Regions from separate parts of the Homo sapiens genome. Here region 1 is linked to region 2. The links are contacts of gene promoters, found by promoter capture Hi-C in blood cells and fetal thymus (Javierre and others, 2016). All regions are on one chromosome and are shown on one strand. Each heading gives the region's core, a stretch centred on a gene start or on the middle of the fragment in contact. The rest is flanking DNA. Distances are from core to core; before and after follow the strand shown. Region 1 overlaps TFDP2 (transcription factor Dp-2). Region 2 holds the start of CEP70 (centrosomal protein 70).

Region 1 (5,046 bases), core at 1,377-3,876, 3.4 Mb before region 2:
TGTTTAATTTCCTTTTGTTTTAAGACTATAACAGAGTAGGTGTGACCATATCTAGCCCCTGAATATTCTGGCCTTGGGTGACACAGGTGAGCACTTCTAGCTGATCTGACAGGTTAAAGGTGTACACTTATTTTCTCTGTAAGAAGCGTCATCTGGTAAGATGATCAAGAATGGTGCAAAGCAGGATGGGGAGTTTAAAATTGTTTCCAAATGTGGGAATGTAAATGAATATAAACATGTAAGATTTTAATATACCAAACTGATCAGATTCTGTGTAATTTCCAAGTTTCTTTTTTCTTTCAAAACTCCTCTGAAATCTGACTGTCCACAAAAACTTACTTTATAGAATTTTATGTGATTTATTTACTCAGATATTATACTGACCTCACATCCAGTAGTGAAAACAGATTTTATTGTAGAATCTGGAAAGATAGAGGGCCATATAGGTTGTATTTTCAGTTTTGTTTATACTAACACGTGTTTACAACCCAGTTTAATTTACACCCTGTATTGTATTATTGTTGTCATATCTCTGTATGCATGTAAGTATAATATGTGTTGGCAAAGGAAAATTTTGAGTAAGAAGAAGCTCTCTGATCTATTTGATTCAATATGTATTTGAGTGTCTAACAGACACTGTTTTAGACACTGGTGATACAACACTGAACGGAGCACCAAATACTTTACAGCGTCTCCTGGAGCTGTTGTCAAGACATACTTTCCAAGGGGAATATTTCAGAATAGGTGATAACTAGTCAACGAAGGAAAAGTACCTTAGTCATCTAGGAGAGTTGTACTTAGAGTGAACTGAAATAAACTAAGCTCACGAAAGACAGAGATTTTTTGTTTGGCTTTTGTCTGTTGCATTCACTACTGTATCTCCAGGGCCCAAAATAGTGCTCGGCTCATAATAAGTATTCAGCAAATATATGTTGTTGATTGGAGTGTTTGTTTTGAATTTCTGTAATCAAACACATACCTTGGTAAATTATCTTTACATCTTGCTAGTTGAAAATTTTATCTCAGTTGCTTTGTTTTTAATGTTACCTTGCTTTTTGTTTCTACTTGTGCCATACATCAGGATGCTGGAAAAGCTTATTAATATTGACAGTCATATGGTTATCTGATATTGAAAAGAATAGATTTGGAAAGGAACCTAAGAGGTCATCTTTTGTTCAGCTTCCTGCCTAGGAAAACTAAGTAAGATGATTAGGTATGTATATTTAATTAGTCATTTAAAAAAAAACCAGGACAACATAATTGAGTTCCCTCTTGAGAAAATGGAGAAAGGTACTTAACCCTAGCTATAAAGGGACTAACCTGGAAATTTTAGAACTTCTGTGTGGGAAAGTGGAAAAAAAAAAAAAGCACAACTAAGCTGCTCTTTGTTGATATCAGAAATGGGCCTGTCATTCATTTTGGCATTGAAGCATAGCCTCCTATCTCGGGGCAGGACTGGGACATTTTTTTCCTCCCACAAGAGCTGGACAGTTATTACAGGTTCAAAAAGCCCCGACCAGTTTTTCAAGAGTTTCTCCTCCTCTTTTCCCCCTGAAACTCGTGGTGCTTTTGCTCTGCTTTCAAGATGCATTAAGTCTCCTGCTTTGTGACTGCTTTGGAGCCAGCAGATACTCTGATATGTATAATTCAAATTATGCAGGTTTCACGAGTAAGTTTAATCTTATTTTTTAAGTTAGTTAAAAGGCAAGTGATATTTAGAAAAATGTTAACTTGTAGTTATTTCACCCTTTTTACTTTAAGCATTTTTATTGCTTCTCGGCCTTTTGGCTAAGATCAAGTGTGTACTTTAAGCATTTTTTAAAATAAAAATATCCTTTTAATTTAATAAGAAAACAAGGTTCTACATAGAAAAGCCCCTTCATCTAAGACCTGCACTTTTCAATTTCTTTTGAGATGTCTTTGTTGTAAACAGTATTCATATGTCTTTTGAAAGCCAGTTAACTAAACAGTTTTCTTGAGCATCTTTTTAGTTTTACTGAGAAGTATTTTAAATTGAGCTTTTCTGAGCTCGATTGCTTACGTCTGACACAGTCTCAAGTTTCCACTGAATGGTAACAAAGACTGTAGAATGTTGTTGGTACTGCAGTGAGAGGCATGCTTCCTTAGACCAGGTAAGAGAGATCAGTTTGTTTCTCACTGCTGGGTGAGTTTTTACAGCTCTTATTTTATATTCTTTAAGCAGCAGCAATATTAAATTGATAAATAGCCAGGAGCACGCTGATTTCAAGACGTCCTTGCTTGTTGCAGACAGAAAAACTACAGGGTTATGTATGGGGGTTGGGGTGGGGGGGGAGGGGAAGAATTAGTTTATTACTCAGTTACTTATATAAATTAATTAAAATGTGAAAATAATTCTGGAGCTCAGTTTTCTTAATTCAGGAACTAAAGCAGCAGTTGAGGAAATCAGTAATTTTAAAGGTACTTCATGGTTATTACTTGTGAAAGCAATTCAAAGGATAGTTTTTACTTTCATTTTTTTCCCCAGTAGTTAATAAAATAAGCTTTGCCCTTAACTAAACATTTTTTCCACTTACGAAAACTTTTAAATTGCCAACAGCAAAATATACTTCCCAAGGATCCTTGGAAATCAACCTGACACTTGAAAAATATTTCAGCTTTTATAGCTGTTTCATTCCTTTTTTTCCCTAGTACATTTTTCTTAAAAGTATTTGTGCTTTGAAAATGTCAGCTGTATTCTAATGAAGCTTAGGCATTGTTTGCTCATAAAGGGGCCGGTGCATTCCACTGCTTTATGGTTTATTATGAGGCACAGTGTGAGAGTGTGGGTGGCACCATTTGGTGTCTGCCTCTTGGGGTAGTGACTGCCATTATGTTAGCCTTGGACTGGCAAAGAAAATATAGCATACAAGATGCTATATGAATCTGGATACTGTGAAGAAAATCTTACCCCTAAACAATTCTTAATGACCCCGGAATATATGACAACTTGATTGAATTGATCATTTCAATTATACCCTTGAAGTTTGCATTTTAGTTACAACGTATATTCTATTAGACACGTCTTATTTTTTGATATATAATAGCATTTAGTCATTCTTTGAAGTTCAATAAGGAAGTGAATGTTTCTAAACTATGATGTTTTTAATAGATACAGTGAAATTTTAAATAATACATTTACTTAAAAAAGTTTTAAGGAACTTAGTGTGGGTGGGGAGCGGGAGTGGGAGAGGGAGAGGGAGAGGGAGAGGAGGTCAGGCAGAGAGTCTTTCTTCTTTCAGTTAGGAAAGCCCTGGTGAAGAAAAAAAGCAACAGATGTTTCTTCTGTTACAATTGAGGTTGTTTCATTCAAAACTCAGAGTAGCTGGAATGGAGAGAGGAGGTCATAAATCTGATTTAATCAGTGAATAAATAAAATTTAGTCATTTAAAATTTATTATTTTATATTCAGGAATTGAAAGTCATAGAGTAACAAAATGAGTAACATACCCAATATTTAAAAAAAAACTTTAAATATTGCCTGTAGCCTGTATAATTAATGAAAATGTGAGAAAATTAATTCTGTTGAACTTCACTTAAGGAAAAAATTGATAATTAAATCATATAGACCATTTTTTTAAAGCCTAAGCCATCTAAAATATAGAGGAAACAGTTGCAAAAGTTTATCACTAGACAGTAGGTACAAAATCTCAAAATGAAAATAAAATGAGAAACATCAGTTACATATGTTGATAGATGATTTCATCTTCTGTGAGAAGCTGAGGCTTATTCCTAAGACCTTTGCATAAGAAATATGGGAGTAATATTTTGGGTTTAATTGAAATGATATGTTGCAGTTTGCCTCTAAAAAGAAAGATAATAAGCTTGGATTGGTTGCTAATGGAAAGAGGAGAATGTTTATCTGCTGAAAAGAGTAGGAATGAAGAGTGTGGAAGCATTATGCGTGTAATGAAAGCAGTCAAAATTTTGAAAAACAGTTTTTGAATTTTTGGAATTCATAATGAGGAAAGTGAAAACCTTTCCTTTTACAAGTAACACAAAGAAGTCCTATGCTGTTGTATAATGTGCGTGTATACACATTACAACTTTATTCATTTCTTAAGTTTGCTCTTGAAAAATCAGTGCTGAGCACCAGCTCTTTCACATATGAGGCACTTATTCAATATTTGCCATACCCTACACTGGAAAATTCGTAGTAATTTACAGTAGCCAATAAAGTTTTTGAGCTATAGTTTAAAATTTGCATATGGATTAATTATTATACAGTTTTCTAAATAATTGGCCTAAGGAGAGAGAAGGCTGGAAAAGATATCAACATTCAAGCAGATTATTAAAAATTCCTCTTGCTGTTAGCTAAGATCTGTGGGCTTACCTGAAGTTATTTTTTTGTTGTTTTTTTTTGTTGTTTTTTTGTTTTTTTGAGACGGAATCTCGCTGCAAGCTCTGCGTCCCAGGTTCACACCATTCACCTGCCTCAGCCTCCCCAGTAGCTGGGACTACAGGCGTCCACCACCACGCTCAGCTAATTTTTTGTATTTTTAGTAGAGATGGGGTTTCATCATGTTAGCCAGGATGGTCTCAATCTCCTGACCTCGTGATCTGCCCACCTCGGCCTGATGGTCTCGATCTCCCGACCTTGAGATCCGCCTACCTCGGCCTCCCAGAGTGCTGGGATTATGGGCGTGAGCCACTGCGCCGGCCAGAAGATTTTCTTTTCTTCAAATAATGATGACCAAATTTAGAGATTTTGAAGTTTGTTTGTTTTTTGAGATGGAGTTTCGCTCTTGTTGCCCAGGCTGGAGTGCAATGGTGTGATCTCGGCTCACTGCAACCTCTGCCTCCTGGGTTCAAGCGATTCTCCTTCCTCAGCCCCCCAAGTAGCTGGGATTACAGGCATGCGCCCACACGCCTGGCCTTTGAAGTTTATTGAATCATTATTTCAATTAAGATTCAGATTCTAAAACTTATCTATGTACATTTTGCTTATCTTAAGGAATAGCAACATGTAATGGTTGAGGTTTTTTCTCTCTAAAATAAGTAAAACAATTTACATGGACTTTAAAATGG
Region 2 (4,775 bases), core at 1,409-3,908:
TGAACTGGGGGGTGGAGCTTGCAGTGAGCCACGATCACGCCACTGCACTATAGCCTGGGCAAGAGCGAGACTCCCGTCTCAAAAAAAAAAAAAAGAAGTTGAGAAATAAAAGATGTGTTTTAACTGCTAATGAAAGTTATAATTTATGCTAGGAAGCCAAAGTACAGAGGAAAGCAGAAAGCCGAAATGAAGACATGCTTGGCTTTCAACTTAAGTGTCACTTCATCAGAGAGGCTTCCTCCATAGCCCCTCTTCTCTTCTTTGATATCACTTATTATATTAATAATATATACTTAATTGCATTTGTTTCATATTTTCTCCGCAGTTAGACTATAAGATCCACGAAGGCAGGAATCACAACTGGGCTTACTTACTATTGTAAACTCCCCCACTTATAAATCTGACTCAGCATCTAGTTCAATCCCTGGTACAAAACAGGTGCTTAACAAAAAAATTTTTTTTTTTTTGAGACGGAGTTTTGCTCTTGTTGCCCAGGCTAGAGTGCAATGGTGAGATCTCGGCTCACCGCAACCTCCGCCTCCCGGGTTCAAGCGATTCTCCTGCCTCAGCCTCCTAAGTAGCTGGGATTACAGGCATGTGCCACCACACCCGGCCAATTTTGTATTTTTAGTAGAGATGGGGTTTCCCCATGTTGGCTAGGCTGTTGTCGAACTCCTGACCTCAGGTGATCCACCTACCTTGGCCTCCCAAAGTGCTGGGATTACAGGCGTGAGCCACTGTGCCCGGCCAACACATTTTTATAAATGAATGAATGTTAAATGAATGTTTAGAATTATTAGAATTCTATTGGGTAGATGAGGCCCATAGAAAACTCTTGAGACCAATGTAGCAGGATTCTCAGTGAAAGACTAAGTTTGTGTGCAGGGATGTTTTCCTTCTCTAGCAAAGAGAGGTGCTGGAAAGGCTTTCATGGTCCATAAGAAGGGAATTGTTTTGGAGGGCAGTGCTATAGCAACTCTTCCCCTCCATTCACCACATAAAAAATTCAGTTAGAAAATAGAGAGGAATCAGCCTTCTTGTGCTTTGAAGACTGTGAAAGATACTGGTGATCATCCATCTAGCATCCATTTTCCTCTTCTCCTTTACAGGTCTCCAGTTTTATTCAAATAGCCATGTCTCCACCTTGCAACTCATGTGACTCAAAGAGCACTGACACCATTGCCAATTCCAATTGTCATAGCTCCTTTTCACTTCTGGAACCCAGGCTTAAGCTGTCTGTACATTTCCCAGGCAGTTACTGGTAAAGAGGAAGAGTGTGTGCCTGTGTGAACTTATTGGCTCAAAAAACCAGAAGGAAAGGTTTTAGATGAAAAAGAAAGTATGTGGTCCTGATTTCTCCAAGTAGACATCTGGAAAATCACGTTAGTATGAATTTGAAGTCTACCCTTTTTTTTTTTTACAACAAAGCAGAGACTAATAGCAACTGGGTCCTTGTTAACTTGCTTAGCCACTGAATTAATCAAAGTCTCCCTTGCCTCTGAGCTTTCTGTTATGCGAGATAAGCAACTTCTTTATTTTTTAGGAAGACAGTTTAACTCAGATTCTATATCACGTGCATCCAAAATAATAATAACTGACTCAAAGATGTTTGGCCTCTACAATTAGGGCAGCCATTCTCAGAAGAGTATGCAAGGGCACCCTATTATCTTGGAAAAGGGAAGCACTGAGACTATTTGCATTTTGAGAACTGAAAATGCAATCTGCTAACCGTCGTTAGAGTGAATATCCAGGTATGGAAAGCACAGTGGGTAGGCGTAGGTTGGGGTAGGGACATGTTTGCATGGGGCAAACACAGAGATCAAACCTAAGTGTAGTCCCAGCTGCCTGGAAGAAGGCTAAGAAGGGTCTGAAAGTATTGAGCTCCAAGAGCCCTTGGATCTCCTGATGAGAGACCCTTGGCTGATGCCCTAGATGGGACATCCCTGTTGGCTACTGTGGGACCTGCATCATTTGACTGCAACACAGTCTGTTGCAACATTTGACTGTAACACAGACCTACATCATTTGACTGATTTGAAAAGACAAGTTGTCAACAGCGACACCATGTGGCTATAAGATACAATGACAATGGTGGACAGCTACAGCCTCAGGTAGGGCCTGACGCTTCGTCGAGATGTGGAAAATGCTGAATGGGAAGATGAACTGTCGTCAACAAATATTTATTGGGGTCCTCCAAATGTCAGCTGCTACAGTGGTCATTCAGGTCTGGAACATCGAGAACATGCTGACCCGTACCCCAGCAAGGGCTCGTAGTCGCGGCGGGGTAGGGGGCGAGAGAGAGGGCAGTCTCTGGTGGCCAGGTAACCCAGGCTTCACTTTCACCCACGGCCACAAGTATTTCTGACGTCTTCCGGGCAAATAAGCCTCCATGTAAGTGACAGGGCACCCAAGGAGTGCGTTGGAAGCGCCAGCGTGCCCGAGACCAGCACATCGCACCGACGCCTTCGTTTGCGGTAAGCCCCGCCCCCCGTAGTGAGCCAACCGGAGGGAGCGGGGCGGACCCAGCTTCCCGGAGAGGCTGGAGAGAATCGTTTGGGGGCATTCGCAGGCCAAAGAGGGGCTGGCCCTCGACGCGCTCGGGCTCGATTGGCCGCCCTCCCCCGGCGGTGGTAACGGTCGCGGAGGCGGGGCCTGACGTAGCTGATCCCAGCCTAACCTGGCCCGGCTGGCTGCTGGTGGGAGGCCGGCGACTGAGTAAGGTGAGTGGCTCTCGGGGCTCTCAGAGGCGTCGGCGTGAGCCCCTTCCCGGAGTACCCCGGACTTGACCTCACCTGGGCCTAAAAGTGGTCAGACTGACCCTTGTCGGGGAGGAGCCATCTGGGACAGGGTCGCGCCAATTAAAAATCCCTGCGTAAGGGTTTGGGGATCGGACAAAACTGCCTCCAGTCCCAGCTCCCCAGGCTTTGTGTTCTTTGGCTTCTCCTTTAATGTCTCAGCGCCTCCGATTCTTTATTTGTATACTAAAGCTGGTAATTCTTGCCTTACAAGGTGGTTGTGAGGGTTAAATGAGGCAGTAAGAGTAAAGCTTAGAATCACGTCGGGCACAGACTCGATTTAAGCTGTAGGTAATTACTCCATCCCCCAAAATCGACCCGGGCTGAAGCGCTAGTTTTGTGTCAAACAACCGCGAAGGTTGTTTGGGGAGTGAGGACTCGGAGCAGAAGGGGGCGGTTAGGCGAATAGCACAGGTGAGTATCTCTTTCTCCAGTTTATTAACCTCATTCCGGATTCAGGAGACCTCTGACTTTATACAGGGCCTAATAGGAGTTTTTCAAGGTGAAAAATGCCAGAAGGCTAAGTCACCTGTAACAGAGAGACCAATCAGAGTTTCCTTTTTTACTGCCACTTTGTTTTTCAATCAATGATATTAAACAGGCAGGGCGCAGTGGCTTACGCCTGTAATCTCAGCACTTTGGGAGGCCGAGGTGGGCGGATCCCCTGAGGTCAGGAGTTCGAGACCACCCTGGCCAACATGATGAAACCACGTCTCTACTAAAAATACAAAAATTAGCTGGGCATGGTGGTGTGCGCCTGTAATCCCAGCTACTCGGGCGGGTGAGGCAGCAGAATCGCTTGAACTCGGGAGGCGGAGGTTGCTGTGAGCCGAGATCGCGCCACTGCACTCCAGCCTGGGTGACGGAGCGAGACTCTGTCTCAAAAATATATGTATAATATATTAAACTCTGTGCAGGCATTACCCATATTGGTTTCAAGCCTCTGCATGAGTTTTGTACTTTAAATATTGCCAAGTAGACTCTGGCCTCCCCTGCCCCGCCTTTTGGGGAAGAGGTGGCTGACTTGGAGTTTTCCCTACAGCTTTTGCTTCAAAGCAAGGTTCTGCCCCTTCATGTCACCTCTCCTGAGACAGAATGATTTGGTTGAGATGACATTCCATTTTAACTCTTTCCTATTTGGGGTAAGTTCAGCTCTTTCTTAGGAACATTAAACAGCAAGTTGCAATATTTTTAGAATAGAGCTTTTGCATTTAATAAGGAATAGAGACTTCGAAAGGGTTACATGTTCATTTATTGCAGTAATTTGAAGTATATACTTTTGAAGATGCTTACAGATTTTGGTGTGATTCAGTTGAGAAGGAACAGTTATTGGCCATGGTTTATTGTCAGCTCCCCTCCCCCACCCCAAATGGTGAAAAAAATAATTAAATTTTAAGATATGGAGCATGTTACAAGGGGCTTCAGACCTATAAAGGGCAATTTGGCTGAAAGACTCGGGAAACCTAGAAAGTGCCAGAAGATGCAATTATGTTTTTGCTTTTCTATGCTTGGCTTACTATGCCATGTACAAATCAACTCCTACCCTCCGACTCCTACCCCCCGACTCCTACCCCCAACAATCTTATTTTAAGTGTGTTATGACAGTAATTAAAGCTGTAGCTTCTGTTTTGGCCCTAGAAAGCATTTGGTCTCTTCCTGTGACTTTAAAGTTCCAGACCTTTGTCCTGTCACAGCCTGTAGTGGGGAAAAGGCTGCTGCAAACTATTGGCCCGTTTATTTCACAGAATGGTCCTCTGAAAAGGAGGGCTTGGTCACAGGTGCAAATGAGGAGTAGTTTTGTTCCTGTGTTTGCTTTTGTGATCAGTGGTAGTTTGTCTGAGGATGCTTCATTTTAGTATCCTTGCAAATGAGAATATCCTACCTGTGGAGCCAGAAGTCAGAATTGATGATAGATGATGATAGATTTGGATACCCAGCTAAATGTCTTAACAAGGTAGGGAGAGGAAAGATAAGAAGGAG

The links. The method cuts DNA at HindIII sites, captures the fragments that hold promoters and counts their contacts. A CHiCAGO score of 5 or more calls a contact.
Region 1: a fragment that was not itself captured here is called in contact with the fragment with the promoter of CEP70 in region 2 in 1 of 17 cell types (total B cells); the score reaches 9.3 in total B cells.

The regions. Positions count from the first base shown.
Region 1 is chr3:142,025,665-142,030,710 of GRCh38, reverse strand. All of the region lies in intron 3 of TFDP2 (transcription factor Dp-2), which reads left to right. Among named protein-coding and RNA genes, the nearest start is that of TFDP2, 120 kb to the left of the region's middle. RefSeq lists enhancers at 1,378-1,427, 1,834-2,335 and a silencer at 2,722-2,771. The HindIII fragment of the contact is 204 bases long and covers 2,525-2,728 here.
Region 2 is chr3:138,592,143-138,596,917 of GRCh38, reverse strand. It overlaps CEP70 (centrosomal protein 70), which reads left to right and starts at 2,658. Exons shown (of 18, transcript NM_024491.4): 1 at 2,658-2,720. RefSeq lists an enhancer at 2,394-2,453. The HindIII fragment of the contact is 6,508 bases long and covers 1-3,048 here.